Linked DNA regions of Homo sapiens: region 2 is linked to region 1. The links are contacts of gene promoters, found by promoter capture Hi-C in human tissues and cell types (Jung and others, 2019). All regions are on one chromosome and are shown on one strand. Each heading gives the region's core, a stretch centred on a gene start or on the middle of the fragment in contact. The rest is flanking DNA. Distances are from core to core; before and after follow the strand shown. Region 1 holds the start of TMEM87B (transmembrane protein 87B). Region 2 overlaps ANAPC1 (anaphase promoting complex subunit 1).

Evidence for each region. Contacts are between HindIII fragments. The study calls those that stand out against the background at their distance.
Region 2: a contact is called between a fragment that was not itself captured here and the fragment with the promoter of TMEM87B in region 1, in 1 of the 25 tissues and cell types used here (spleen).

Annotation. Positions count from the first base shown.
Region 1 is chr2:112,050,619-112,056,845 of GRCh38, forward strand. It overlaps TMEM87B (transmembrane protein 87B), which reads left to right and starts at 4,651. Exons shown (of 19, transcript NM_032824.3): 1 at 4,651-5,138. The coding sequence starts at 4,974. RefSeq lists silencers at 3,643-3,692, 3,893-4,622 and enhancers at 5,353-5,422, 5,453-5,792. The HindIII fragment of the contact is 9,449 bases long and covers 883-6,227 here.
Region 2 is chr2:111,869,911-111,876,483 of GRCh38, forward strand. ANAPC1 (anaphase promoting complex subunit 1) reads right to left here. Exons shown (of 48, transcript NM_022662.4): 4 at 3,703-3,754; 5 at 3,398-3,498; 6 at 2,720-2,802. Among named protein-coding and RNA genes, the nearest start is that of ANAPC1, 11 kb to the right of the region's middle. The HindIII fragment of the contact is 4,344 bases long and covers 1-4,323 here.

The DNA of each region.
Region 1 (6,227 bases), core at 3,401-5,900:
ATTTGTTCTTTGGACAATTTTTGTTTGCTCCAGGATTTAATTTTTCAAATTAAAAATTATATGGTAGCTGTTTTGTTTGTTTGTTTGTTTGTTTTTCTAAATCCCATAAGACTCAAAAGAGAATGAGTAAAGCACTCTGGCAATCAGTTGACTATCAATCTATTTTTACCAAGTAATCATAAATTTTCCATCTGCTGTGGAGGACACCAAGTTGGATCCCTATATGGGATGTGAGAGGTGTGAGATACTCCCTTCCTTCTTCCTTCCTCCTCCTCCTTCTTAGAAAGGCATATAAATTTTATTAACATATATACAGGGAGAACCACAGAGTGATTACCCCCTTCTTTCTTAGTTTTGGAAATTTTTCTTTTGAAATGATTTCAGACTCAAAGAAAAGTTGCAAGAAGAATACAAAGAACTCCTGCATACTCTTCATTCAAATTGGTTTTATTAGATTATCTTGATAGATAGATAGAGATGGTATACATGTTATACATATATAAAGCTTATATATATAATATATAAAAAGTTTTTTGTAACCACCAAAGAATAAGTTCAGATGTGGTGCCCGCTTACCTTTAAATACTTCAGTGTGCTTTTCTCTAGAAAGAGGACCTTCTCTTAGTGTGATAACGGTGCCATTTTCACATTCAGGAAATTCACATTGACAATACCATTTTCTTAAAGTCCTTGTTCAAATTTCACCAATTGTCTAAAGAATTTTAATAGCAAAAACAATTTTTCTGGTGTAGGCTCCAGACTGCTAGGCCTATATGTCACATTTAGTTATCATGTCTCTTGGGTCTCCTTTAACCTCTAACTTCCTCAGCTGTTTCAAGAACCTGGCATATATATATATATATATATATATATATATATATATATATATATTTTTTTTTTTTTTTTTTTTTTGGTAAATTATACCAGCTAGTTACTTTGTAGAATGTCTTTCAATTTGGGTTGTCTGATGTTTCCTTGTGATTAGATTTAAGTATGTGAATTTTTTCCTCATTTCCTTGAATAGCTTGATTAGATGCATTTTTGCATTTTGGGCATGCATTTTTGGCAGGAATATCACAGAAGTCATGCTGTTTCTTTTCAGTTAATCAAATCATGATACATATCATGTCTGTTTGTCCCAATCCTTGTGGGATTAACCTTGATCATTAAGTTGGTGTCTGCCAGGTATCTCCACTGTATAATTACTGTTTTTCTCTTTGTAATTAATAAGTAATTTTTGGAAGATATTTCCTCATGAAGCTTTTGCCAACTAACTTTAGAATAGAATTGATGATTCTTTCTGAATCAATTTTAATTGTGATAGTTGCCAAATGGTGATATTTTAAATTTGTTATTCCTTCTGCATTTATTAGTTTTCCAACTGTAAGAAAGTGATTTTCTTTCCTATTTATGTAATCATTTATTTATTTATGTTAGTATAGACTCATGGATTCCTATTTGAGTCAATGAGTTACAATCCACTACTATCATTTTGGTGACCAAATTGTCCCAGATCTGGTAAGTGGAAGGGAGCTCCTTCAAACTGGCTCCTATGCCTTTTTGACGTGTCCTCATAATTTTTTACCCACTTCCTTACTTTCTGGCAAAACAAGATTCTCAAGTTCATCATGAATTTCTCTATTCCATTCCTGGGCTCAGCCACTTCTCCAAGGATCCCTGGTTTATTTTAGTGGAGAATGATATTTATAAAGCAAGATCTGGTGCTAGATGTACCTATTGCTACTGGGGTGTCGCTGCTTCTAGGTCCTCCTGGGAATCAGTGCAAGAAAATATAAACACACACACACACACACATATCTACATCTATTTATAAAACTAAATTTTAAAAATGAGTTCACACTGATATCATCAGTTGCAAGCCAGCATTATAGTTCATTCTAACCTTCCTCATTTTCCTTTTTTTTTTTTCCTTTTCTTGCTTTCTTTCTCTTTCTTTCTTTTTTTTGTTTGTGACAGGTTCTGACTCTGTCACACAGGCTGGAGTGCAGGGCTCACTGCAACTTTCGCCTCCCAGGCCCAAGTGATCCTCCCGCCTCAGCTTCTTTGAGTAGCCAGAACCACAGGCACGCCACCACACCTGGCTAATTTTTGTATTTCGTGTAGAGACAGGATTTCGCCATGTTGTCCAGGCTGGTCTCAAACTCCTGAGCTCAAACTATCCACCCGCCTTGACCTCCCAAAGTGCTGGGATTACAGGCGTGCCCAGCCACTGTAAACATCTTACGACCATGGGTGGTGACTGGCAAGAAATGTACCTTGCTAGTTTTAAGATGGAGTTATTTTTAAAATGGTGTCACCCTGGCTCTCCTATGCTCCTGTTTCCCAATTTGACAACCAACACGATCTTTCTGATCAGCTCATCCTTACTTAAAAACCATCATTGGGGCCGGGCGCGGTGGCTCACGCCTGTAATCCCAGCACTTTGGGAGGCCGAGGCAGGCGGATCATGAGGTCAAGAGATCGAGACCATCCTGGCTAACACGGTGAAACCCAGTCTCTACTAAAAAATATAAAAAAATTAGCCTGGCGTGGTGGCTGGCGCCTGTAATCCCAGCTACTCAGGAGGCTGAGGCAGGAGAATGGCGTGAACCAGGAAAGCGGAGCTTGCAGTGAGCCGAGTTCGCGCCAGTGCACTCCAGCCTGGGCGACAGAGCGCGACTCAGTCTCAAAAACAAAACAAAACAAAAAATCATTGCCTCTCCAGTGTTCTTAACTAAAGGTGCCATCTGCCTAACTTAATTTAGGAATGCCTGTATGTTTTGGTACTGTTTAAATATTCCCAGCTTTGCCACTCTCCGTCTCACACCAACATCCAGTCATCTGGAAGATCTTTCCATTCCTCCAGTTCTCTCGTAACTAAAACGATTTCAGACTTACCCCTCACTCCCACAGGTAACTCGCCCTTAACTCTTCTTGTAGAACTTAAATTTCATGTATTGTTCTCTCCTTCTGTCCCTCACTTACTTCCTAAATCTCTGGTGGATGTTCCCCTGTGGTCCTGTTACAGTTATTCTGACCTAAACAGAACTGATCACGTTGCTTACTGGGAAGATGCACATGCAATCTCTAGTGTATAGTAGGTCCTCAATAATTACTGGTGACTGGTAAAGCAGCCAAGGCCTTTGGACTATAAATCGATCTTATTCTACGTTAATAACAATATTAGCACAGGATTCTATTCCCTTGCTGGATATTATTTACATTTGATAATGAATGAACTAATTCTCTTTGACAGCAAAACATGTATTCAGCTTACAGCCGAAAATGCAAGGGAAGGTACACAATAAGACGGATCCAAGCCCTGACCCCTCTGAGCTTTAAGCCAGTCAAGTAACTACTTGTTCTGAAAAGTATTAACTGTCCTATTAACGTTAACCTTCACAACACAATGCCTTGTGTTCAACTGGCCTTGGCCTCAAAGCACTTTCCTGGCACATTCCCTGAATTTAAAGAACGGTTTCCATACAGCTGAGAGGGTCGAGGCAGGGGTAAGTGTAGAAGACGCAAGAAATGGAGACACCCTGGGAACAGAACTCTAGACTGCACTCCAACCGTAGCACTTACTAGGCATTCGACTCCAGGACCTTGACACTCGCGCTCGCTGGCGGCGAGCCCCGCCTCCCCACTGCGCCTCATCTCCCAGACAGGCCCCGCCTCCCCACTCAGGCCCCGCCTCCCCACTCAGGCCCGTCTCCTCACTCAGGCCACGCCTCCCCGCCCAGTCCCGTCTCCGTACTAGGGCTTGCTCCAAGCCCTGCTTCCTCGCCCAACCTGGCCTCCCCACTACGGCCTAACCCCAAGCCCTTCTCGTCCAGCCCCGTCTCCACACTACTGCCTGGTCCTCAACTCCGCCTCCCCACTCCGACCCCATCTCCCTGACCAGCCCCGCCTTTACGCTCAGGCTCCGCCTCCCCGCCGGGTCTTGCCTCCAAATCCCGGCCCCGCCTCCACGCGGCCCCGCCTCCACGCGGCCCCGCCTCCACGCTCGGCCTGGCCCCAAGCTCTTCCTTCCTGGGGCACTCTGTCTCCGCACTCCGGCCTGGTCCCGAGCCCCGCCCCGCCTCCACACGGCCCCGCCACCACACGGCCCCGCCTCCACGCGGCCCCGCCTCCACGCTCGGCCTGGCCCCAAGCTCTTCCTTCCTGGGGCACTCTGTCTCCGCACTCCGGCCTGGTCCCGAGCCCCGCCCCGCCTCCACACGGCCCCGCCTCCACACGGCCCCGCCTCCACACGGCCCCGCCTCCACACGGCCCCGCCTCCACACGGCCCCGCCTCCACACGGCCCCGCCTCCACACGGCCCCGCCTCCACACGGCCCCGCCTCCACACGGCCCCGCCTCCACACGGCCCCGCCTCCACGCTCGGCCTGGCCCCAAGCTCTTCCTTCCTGGGGCACCCTGCCTCCGCACTCCGCCCTGGTCCCGAGCCCCGCCCCGCCTCCACAGTCCCGAGCCCGCCTCCAACCCTGCCCTGTCCCCACACCCAGCTTGGCCCCGAGCCACGCCTCCCACCCCGCCCCCACACTCCCGAGCCCCGCCTCGTCTCCACACTCCGGCGGCGCCTCCCTACCCGGCCCCGCCTCCGCGCTCGGGCTGCCAGCCCTCCCTTGCACGTTCCGGCTCCTCTTCTATCTTCACGCCCACGCTAGGCCCTGAGCCCAGCCTCCACGTCTCGCCGCCAACTCCACATCCTGGCTCCTATCTCTGCCTTCCAGGCATCTCCCAGCTGCACGCTCGGGCCCGGCTCAGAGCCCTAAGCCCTGCCTCCCGGTCCTGGCCGGGTTTCCCAGAACTGCACGGCGCCTCTCCGCCCAGGCCCAAGCGCGAGCCCCTCCTCCACACCCGAGTCCGAGCCCCGCGTCCCGGATTCGGACCCGCCTGCCTGGGGCGGTGCTGCACCAGGTGCGGGTGTGGCAGGCGTCTCGGAGCGCCAGGTGCAGCTTCCTGGTCAAGATGGTCGCCGCCTGCCGCTCGGTAGCCGGGCTCCTGCCACGCCGCCGCCGCTGCTTTCCCGCCCGGGCCCCGCTGCTGCGCGTCGCCCTCTGCCTCCTGTGCTGGACCCCGGCGGCTGTGCGCGCGGTCCCTGAGCTCGGGCTCTGGTTAGAGACAGTCAACGACGTAAGTGGAGTGTCGGGACCCAGGCGTGGCACGTCTCGGGCCGTCAGGGCCGTCGTGCGGCTTCGCTTGACCCCGGGCTTGTTCACCCTGCCTCTGCCGGGTCAGCACCGGGTCCCCTGATACCCTCCCTGAGCCTTTTGTCTGTTACAGCCGGGGAGCGGGGAGCGGCCCCTCCTCCGGCCCGACCTGGGCTGCAGGCAAGAGCCGTCAGGATTGCGCATGGGACGGCCCTCGGGTCCGAGCGCTCGGACTGTTACTGAGGGTCACCATGCCCGACGCCGTGGCCCTCATTCTGCTCTGACATGTTTTGGCTGGATCAGGAATCTCTCGGCACATCTAGCAGCATCTTTGGGATTCGACTCTTCCTGTCCGGATGCAGCCACAGTGGGCCACACCCCTGAGGCCGCAGGGAGGACTTGCCAGCGCTTCAGTTTCTGCATAAACTTAGAAAGCGGGTCTGCCGCTTCCTTAAAAAAAAAAAAGAAAGAAAAAATTTAAATGAGGGGGAAACGTGCAGTAGTCACCCTACCTCTATTTCTCTCTTCTTGAGTTCCTGAATTTCTCTACAGTTCCTGTCACAGTTCCGGGAGAGAGAGTGTGTGTGTAGGTGGGGCGGGACTTGTGATTAGGGAGTGCTTGAAAGGCGAATCTGGAGGCATGAGTGGGTGGAAACTCTTCTTTCCAAGGCAGGCTATTAGAAAACTTGGCGTCTGGTAATTAGAGGAGATGATGTGGGAGAGATGCAGGGGCAGAATTATGGAAAGTCTTGCAAAAGAGAGACAGGAAGTCTGGAAGAGGCATTATCTCCGGCTTCTCTGGGGTCAGATGACTCATCCAGCACTGTTTGGGATGGGTATTTTCCACATGCATGAAATAATGTCCAGGTTCTAAAGATGAGACTTATATTTTGATTTCCTTAACCAGAAAAAGAAAGTAGTTCCAAAGACTACAAATACTTCCCACAACACAAAAGCTACTCAGAGGAACACGCTGGGTATCTTTCTGGATCTTTTAAGACCTAGTGCAGCCATTTCCTCCAGGATTGGATTCTTCTGGGTTGGTGACCTAATTTGTGTGCCAGTTATAGTC
Region 2 (6,573 bases), core at 902-3,401, 180 kb before region 1:
GTATATAGCCTCTGCATACTCCTTGCTTAGCTCTCACTTGGAAGTGAGAACATGCAGTATTTGGTTTTCCATTCCTGGGTTACTTCACTTAGAATCATGGCCTCCAGTTCCATCCAGCTTGCTGCAAAAGACATTATTTCATTTCCTCGTTATGGCTGATTAGTATTCCATGGTGTATATATACATTTTCTTTATTCACTCATTGGTCAATGGGCACTTAGGCTGCTTCCTTATCTTTGCAATTGTGAATTGTGTTGCAATAAACATACATGTGCATGTATCTTTTTCACATAATGACTTTTATTTCCTTTGGGTAGATACCCAGTAATGGGACTGCTAGATTGAATGGTAGACGTACTTTTAGTTCTTTAAGGAATCTCCATACTGTTTTCCATAGATGTCATACTAATTATGTTCCCACCAGCAGTGTATAAGCATTCCCCTTCCACCACATCCATGCCAACATCTATTGTTTTTCTGACTCTTTAATAATGGCCATTCCTTAAAGAGTAAGGTGAGATCTCACTGTGGTTTTAATTTGTGTTTCTCTGATCATTAGTGATATTGAGCAGTTTCATGTTTGTTGGCCATTTGTGTATCTTCTTTTGAGAACTGTCTATTCATGTCCTTTACCCACTTTTTGAGCTTCTGTCTTGCTGATCTGAGTTCCTTATATATTCTGGATACTAGTGCTTTGTTGGATGCATAGTTTGCAAATATTTTCTCCCACTGTGTGAACTATCTGTCTATTCTGACATTTCTTTTGCTGTGCAGAAGCTTTTTATTTTAATTAGGTCCCATTTATTTATTGTTTTTGTTGCATTTGCTTCTGGTGTTTTAGTCATAAATTCCTTGCCTAGGCCAATGTCCAGAAGAGTTTTTCCAAGGTGATCTTCTAGAATTTTTATGGTTTCAGGGCTTAAAGCCTTTCATCCCTCTTGAACTGACTTTTGTATAAGGTGAGAGATAAAAAAAACCCAATTTCATTCTTCTAAAAAAGGTATCAGTTTTCCCAGCACCATTTACTAAATAGGATGCCTTTCCCCCAATTTATGTTTTTGTAAGCTTGTTTGTCAAAGATCAAATACTTGATTACAAGTATTTGGCTTTATTTCTGGTTTCCCTATTCTGTTCCATTGGTCTATGTGCCTACTTTTATACCAGTACCATGCTGTTTTGCTAATTATAACCTTGTAGAATATGTGATGGCTACATACTTGTTCTTTTTGCTTAGGATTGTTTTGGCTATTTTGGGCTCTTTTGGTTCCACATGAATTTTAGAATTGTTTTTTCTAACTCTATAAAAAAAAAGATCTTATTTTGATGAGAATTATGGTGAAATCTATAGATTGCTTTTGGCAGGATGATCATTTTCACAATATGGATTCTTCAAATCCATGATCATGGGATGTGTTACCATTTGTTTGTGTCATCTGTGATTTCTTTCAGCAGTGTTTTGTAGTTCTCCTTATAGAGATGATTCACCTCCTTGGTTAAGCATATTCATAGGTTTTTGTTTTTGGCTCTTTGCTGCTCTTATAAAAGGGATTGAATTTTTGGCCAGGTGCGGTGGCTCATGCCTATAATCCCAGCACTTTGGGAGGCCAAGGTGGGTGGATCACCTGAGGTCGGGAGTTCGAGACCAGCATGACTAACATGGAGAAACCCCATCTCTACTAAAAATACAAAAAATTAGCCAGGCGTGGTGGTGCATGCCTGTAATCCCAGTTACTCAGGAGGCTGAAGCAGGAGAATCGCTTGAACCTGGGAGGCAGAGGTTGTGGTGAGCCGAGATCATGCCACTGCACTCCAGACTGGGCAACAAGAGCAAAACCCCGTCTCAAAAAAAAAGAGACTGCGTTCTTGATTTGATTTTCAGCTTTGTCATTGTTGCTGTATAGCGGTGCTATTGATCTGTGTACATTGATTTTGTAATCTGAGACTTTACTGAATTTATTTATCAAATCTAGGGGTCTTTTGGAGGAGTCTATAGGGTTTTCTAGGTATATAATCATATTATCAGCAAATAGTGATAGTATGACTTCCTCTTTTCAAATCTGGATGTCCTTTATTTCTTTCACTTGCCTGATTGCTCTGGCCAGAACTTCCAGTACTATGCTGAATAGAAATAGTGAAAGTAGGCATCTTAGTCTTCTTCCAGTTCTCAGGGGGAATGCTTTCAACTTTTCCCCATTCAGTATGATGTTGGCTGTGGGTTTGTTGTATATGACTTTTATTAATTTGTGGTAAGTCCCTTCTATGCCTAGTTTGTTTTTATCATCAAGGGATGCTGAATTTTATCCAATGCTTTTTTCTGCATCTATTGAGATGATCATATGGTTTTTAATTGTTTATGTGATGTGTCACATTTATTGACTTGTGTATGTTAAACCATCCCTGCATCCCTGAGACAAAACCCACTTGATCATGACATATCTTTTTGATGACAGCAACCCTAATTTGAGAATCCAAAACCTGAAATGCTCCAATAAGCATTTCCTTTGAGTGTCATGCTGGAGCTCAACAAGTTGCAGATTTTGGAGAATTTCAGATTTTTGGATCAGGGATACTCAACTTGTACTGAGATGAGAGAAAATGGCATATATCTATGCTGTCAACATGAAAATTATCATCATCTCAAACTTTTAGATAAACCTCAGAACCAACACAAACACACAAATCCCAAGCAGTAATATTCTGAAGTGAATAAAATGAATACCTGGGTGAACCTGGAGGTACTTCATGTGAAGAAGCGCTTCGTTCAAACAGCAATCCATATTTAGTGGGCCAAACATTTGCAACCTTTCAGGTAAAAGGGTGGGAAAAGATAGAAGTAAGAGAACCTACCCCTTTATAAAATGTTTTAAAGAAACATTACAGAATGTTTTATTTTCCAATTTAGTAATAGCTTTACAAAGTAACATAATCATTAAATACGGTATTTTCTTAAAAAGTAATACAAATAAGCAACTCTAAGATAAAATCAAATCTAATAAAGAGGAGTTGTTCAATGTGAAATTCCTGCCACTGGCCAGGATCAGTAACAAAATGACAATGTGTTAACAATAGCCCTAGGCATTAAAAAGACGATGAGTAACAAAAAAAGACTGGTGTTATTCATATGCCTTATTTAATATAACCAAAAGTTCTTAGGTATCATTTAAACCAACAAACACATACCACAGAAGACTTCCTAATTTACTTCACTAAATAACTTATTTTCTTGTGAAGTACAGAAAAATGGTAAGCCACTAAAGCTGCCAAAATTTAGTTATTTTGAGTAAAAATAACATTTTTGACTACTACGAAACATGAGACATAAGACATGCCTCTAAAACCAATTAATTCAAAAATGTTCTCCAACAAAACCCCCCCAAAATTTGAAACACTTGTTTACCTGAAATGGTAATGAAGCTATGTAATCCTTTCCTTCTATGCTATGCATGTTAATACATGAGCTTTGCAATATACATATGCATTTTTCTACTTCATTGCTACCTGAAAAGAAAGGGTACAACAAGACTTATGTGTTTTTTCCCTCAAAGGAGTTCAATCCTAACAGCACAAATTATTTAATGCACAATATAAAGATGCTTATGGTAAACCACTATTACTAGTGGCTACTTCATTTGAATGAAAAATACAATGAGATAAATATTTGGAATCATCATAAGAAAAATAAAATTTCAAAAAGAAACTTACTGTAGGCCTTTTCAGACTTATCCTGTGATATAATGAAGTCACACCACAATGCCTAAAATCAAAACAAAATGCTTACCTAAGAAAATTATATCTAAATAATCATCTATTAACTAATGGCATCTAAATAATAATAATAGCATCTACGTAATAACTTTGCCTCCTCAGCTCAACATGTACAATCATGGGAACAAAAAGAATAAGAAAAAATAAATTAGAGTAATAAATGATAAATATGATAAGGAAAGGCAAAATATGTTTACAATTAAATTTTATGAAAAGATCCATAGGAATTAAAATTTTAAATTAAAAAAATAAATTTTACAAAAAGAGAAGACAAGAATCAAAAAATCTACCAGATAGAAACTTTGCAGCAAAAATTCAAATAGTAGCTCAAACCATACTAAACCCTATATCCTCTACAAAACTAAAGATTATTCAAACTTTATAATCTCCAGATTAAACAACTGATCTTAGACTCTCTCTAGACTGACTTTTGAAAAAGTCTTTAGAAAAACTAACTCCTCCCTTTCTTAAAAGCCCATCTTACAAAATATAAACTAGGAAAAGCTATTAAACTTTAACTGACATACCTGGCAATCACTTATTATTTAACAGCATTTTGTGTTTTTTTTTAAACTGTGGTCAAATACACACAATATGAAAATTAACATTTTAACAATTTTTAAGTAGACAATTCAGTAGCATTAACATTAAATTGACGAGCTTAGTACAATTTGTGAGCTTGTACAATACTGCACATTTCCAGAACTTTTTCCTCATCTCAAACAGAAACTCCGTGCCCATTAAACAATACTCCCCATTTCCCAATGCCCTGAGCTCTGGTAACCTCTATTCCACTTTCCCTATGAAAGGGCCTGTGCTAGGTATCTCATGTAAGTGAAACTGTACATTTGTCCTTTTATATCTATTTTATTTCACTTAACATAATGTTTTCAAGGTTCATCCATGTTATGACATGTATCAGAATTTTATCCCTTTTTAAAGCTAAACAATATTCCACTGTTAGCATATACCACATTTGTTTATCCATTCATCTGTCAATGGACATGGGTTGTTTCTACCTTTTGGCTATCATAAATAATGCTGCTGAAAACACTGGTGTACAAGTATCTGTGAATCCCTGTTCTCAATTCAATTGTGCATATACCTAGAACTGGAACTGCTGGATCATAATGGTAATTCTAAGTATAACTTTTCTTTCAAGAGATGGGGTCTCACTCTGTCACCCAAACTGCAATGCAAGGCATGATTCTAGCTCGCAGCAGCCTAGAACTCCTGGGTTCACATGACCCCCCTGCCTCAGTCTCCTGAACAGCTTGGGAGTACAGGCATGCACCACCATGCCTGGCTACACGTGTAACTTTTTGAGAAATCGCCAAACTTTTCCACAGCAGCTATGTTACATTCCCATCAGCAATGCACAGGAGTTCCAATTTCTGGACATCCTCACCAACATTTGTTATGTTTCTTTAATAACAGCCAACCTAGTAAAGTGGTATCTCATTGTGGTTGTAATCTGCATTTGCCTAATGATTAGCGAAGCTGAGCATCTTTTCATGTGCTTACTGACCATGTGTGCATCTTTAGAAAAATGTCCATTTAAGTCCTTCTGCCCAATTTTTTAATTGGGTAGTTTGTTTTATTGTTGAGTTGTGGGAGATTTTAATGGTTAAGAAATGAAAATTCAGGAAGAAAACCATGCATGAGAGCTGTGCTCCAACCTGAAATGTCCAAAATCTACAATGCACCGATTACAGTCTCAACTTCCTTTGATGAAATCCCATCCTCTCAGCCTCTAAAAGTAAATATTTTAACATCTCTTTTATCCCTGATATCTAAGAGATCACTAACCCCTTCCACATCTCCCTCTGCTTTATCACCCCTTCTTTGCCAAGGCACCAATCTTTTACCTGAACAGTCACAAAATAGTGCCCCTGACAACAGTCTCCCTCCTCTCCAGTCAATCCTATATATATATTGCTAACAAAGCAATCTCTTCTCAAAACACAAAATTGATCGCTTCCATTTTAAAATCCTTGGCAGGCTCCCTTCAGCACACAGTTTAAAATCCAAATTCCTTGGTTTATATACAAGGCCCTTTGGTCTGTATACTGCCAGCATCCACTTGCATCTCTCCACACCCACACTTCGTGTACAGCCATTCTGAAGTTTAAAAAGTCATCTTTTTCCATAATTCTTTTTGCTGTGATTTCCTCTGCCTAGAATGCCCTTCTGCCACCATTTTATAACACAAATAGCATCTTCTTTGAAAAACCCTCCCTTTGGCACTCAGTCCTTTGGGCTCTCATCACTCTGTGGACAGGTAGTTATTATACAGCATTCAGAATACAGCATTTCAGGTGATCTGTTTGTTCTCCTTTCTAGGCTATGAGTCCTTCAATGGCAGAAACTACATTCACCTTTGTAGCCCCAGCATAATGGCTGAAACAGAGTGAGACTAAATACTTGCAGAAGACCAGGCACAGTGGCTCACGCCTGTAATCTCAACACTTTAGGAGGCCAAGCCAGGAGGATCACTAGAGCCCAGGGGTTCAAGACCAGCCTGGACAACATAGTGAGACCCCCATCTCTATTAAAAAACAAAAAGAATAAATGAAAAAATAAAAAGAACAACCAAAAAAAAAATACTTGCAGGATAGGTAAAACAATGAACAGATAAAATCTGAGTCACATATACCTGATATTATTTCATAAACAAAATAGAAAATTATCTTTCTCCATATTAGCAAGAAGATTAAGTAACAATATATTTTCCAGATCAAAAGACTGAAATTCCAAATCTTACAATTACACTTACAAGTGATCTTAAGATAAAGGAGATAATATATC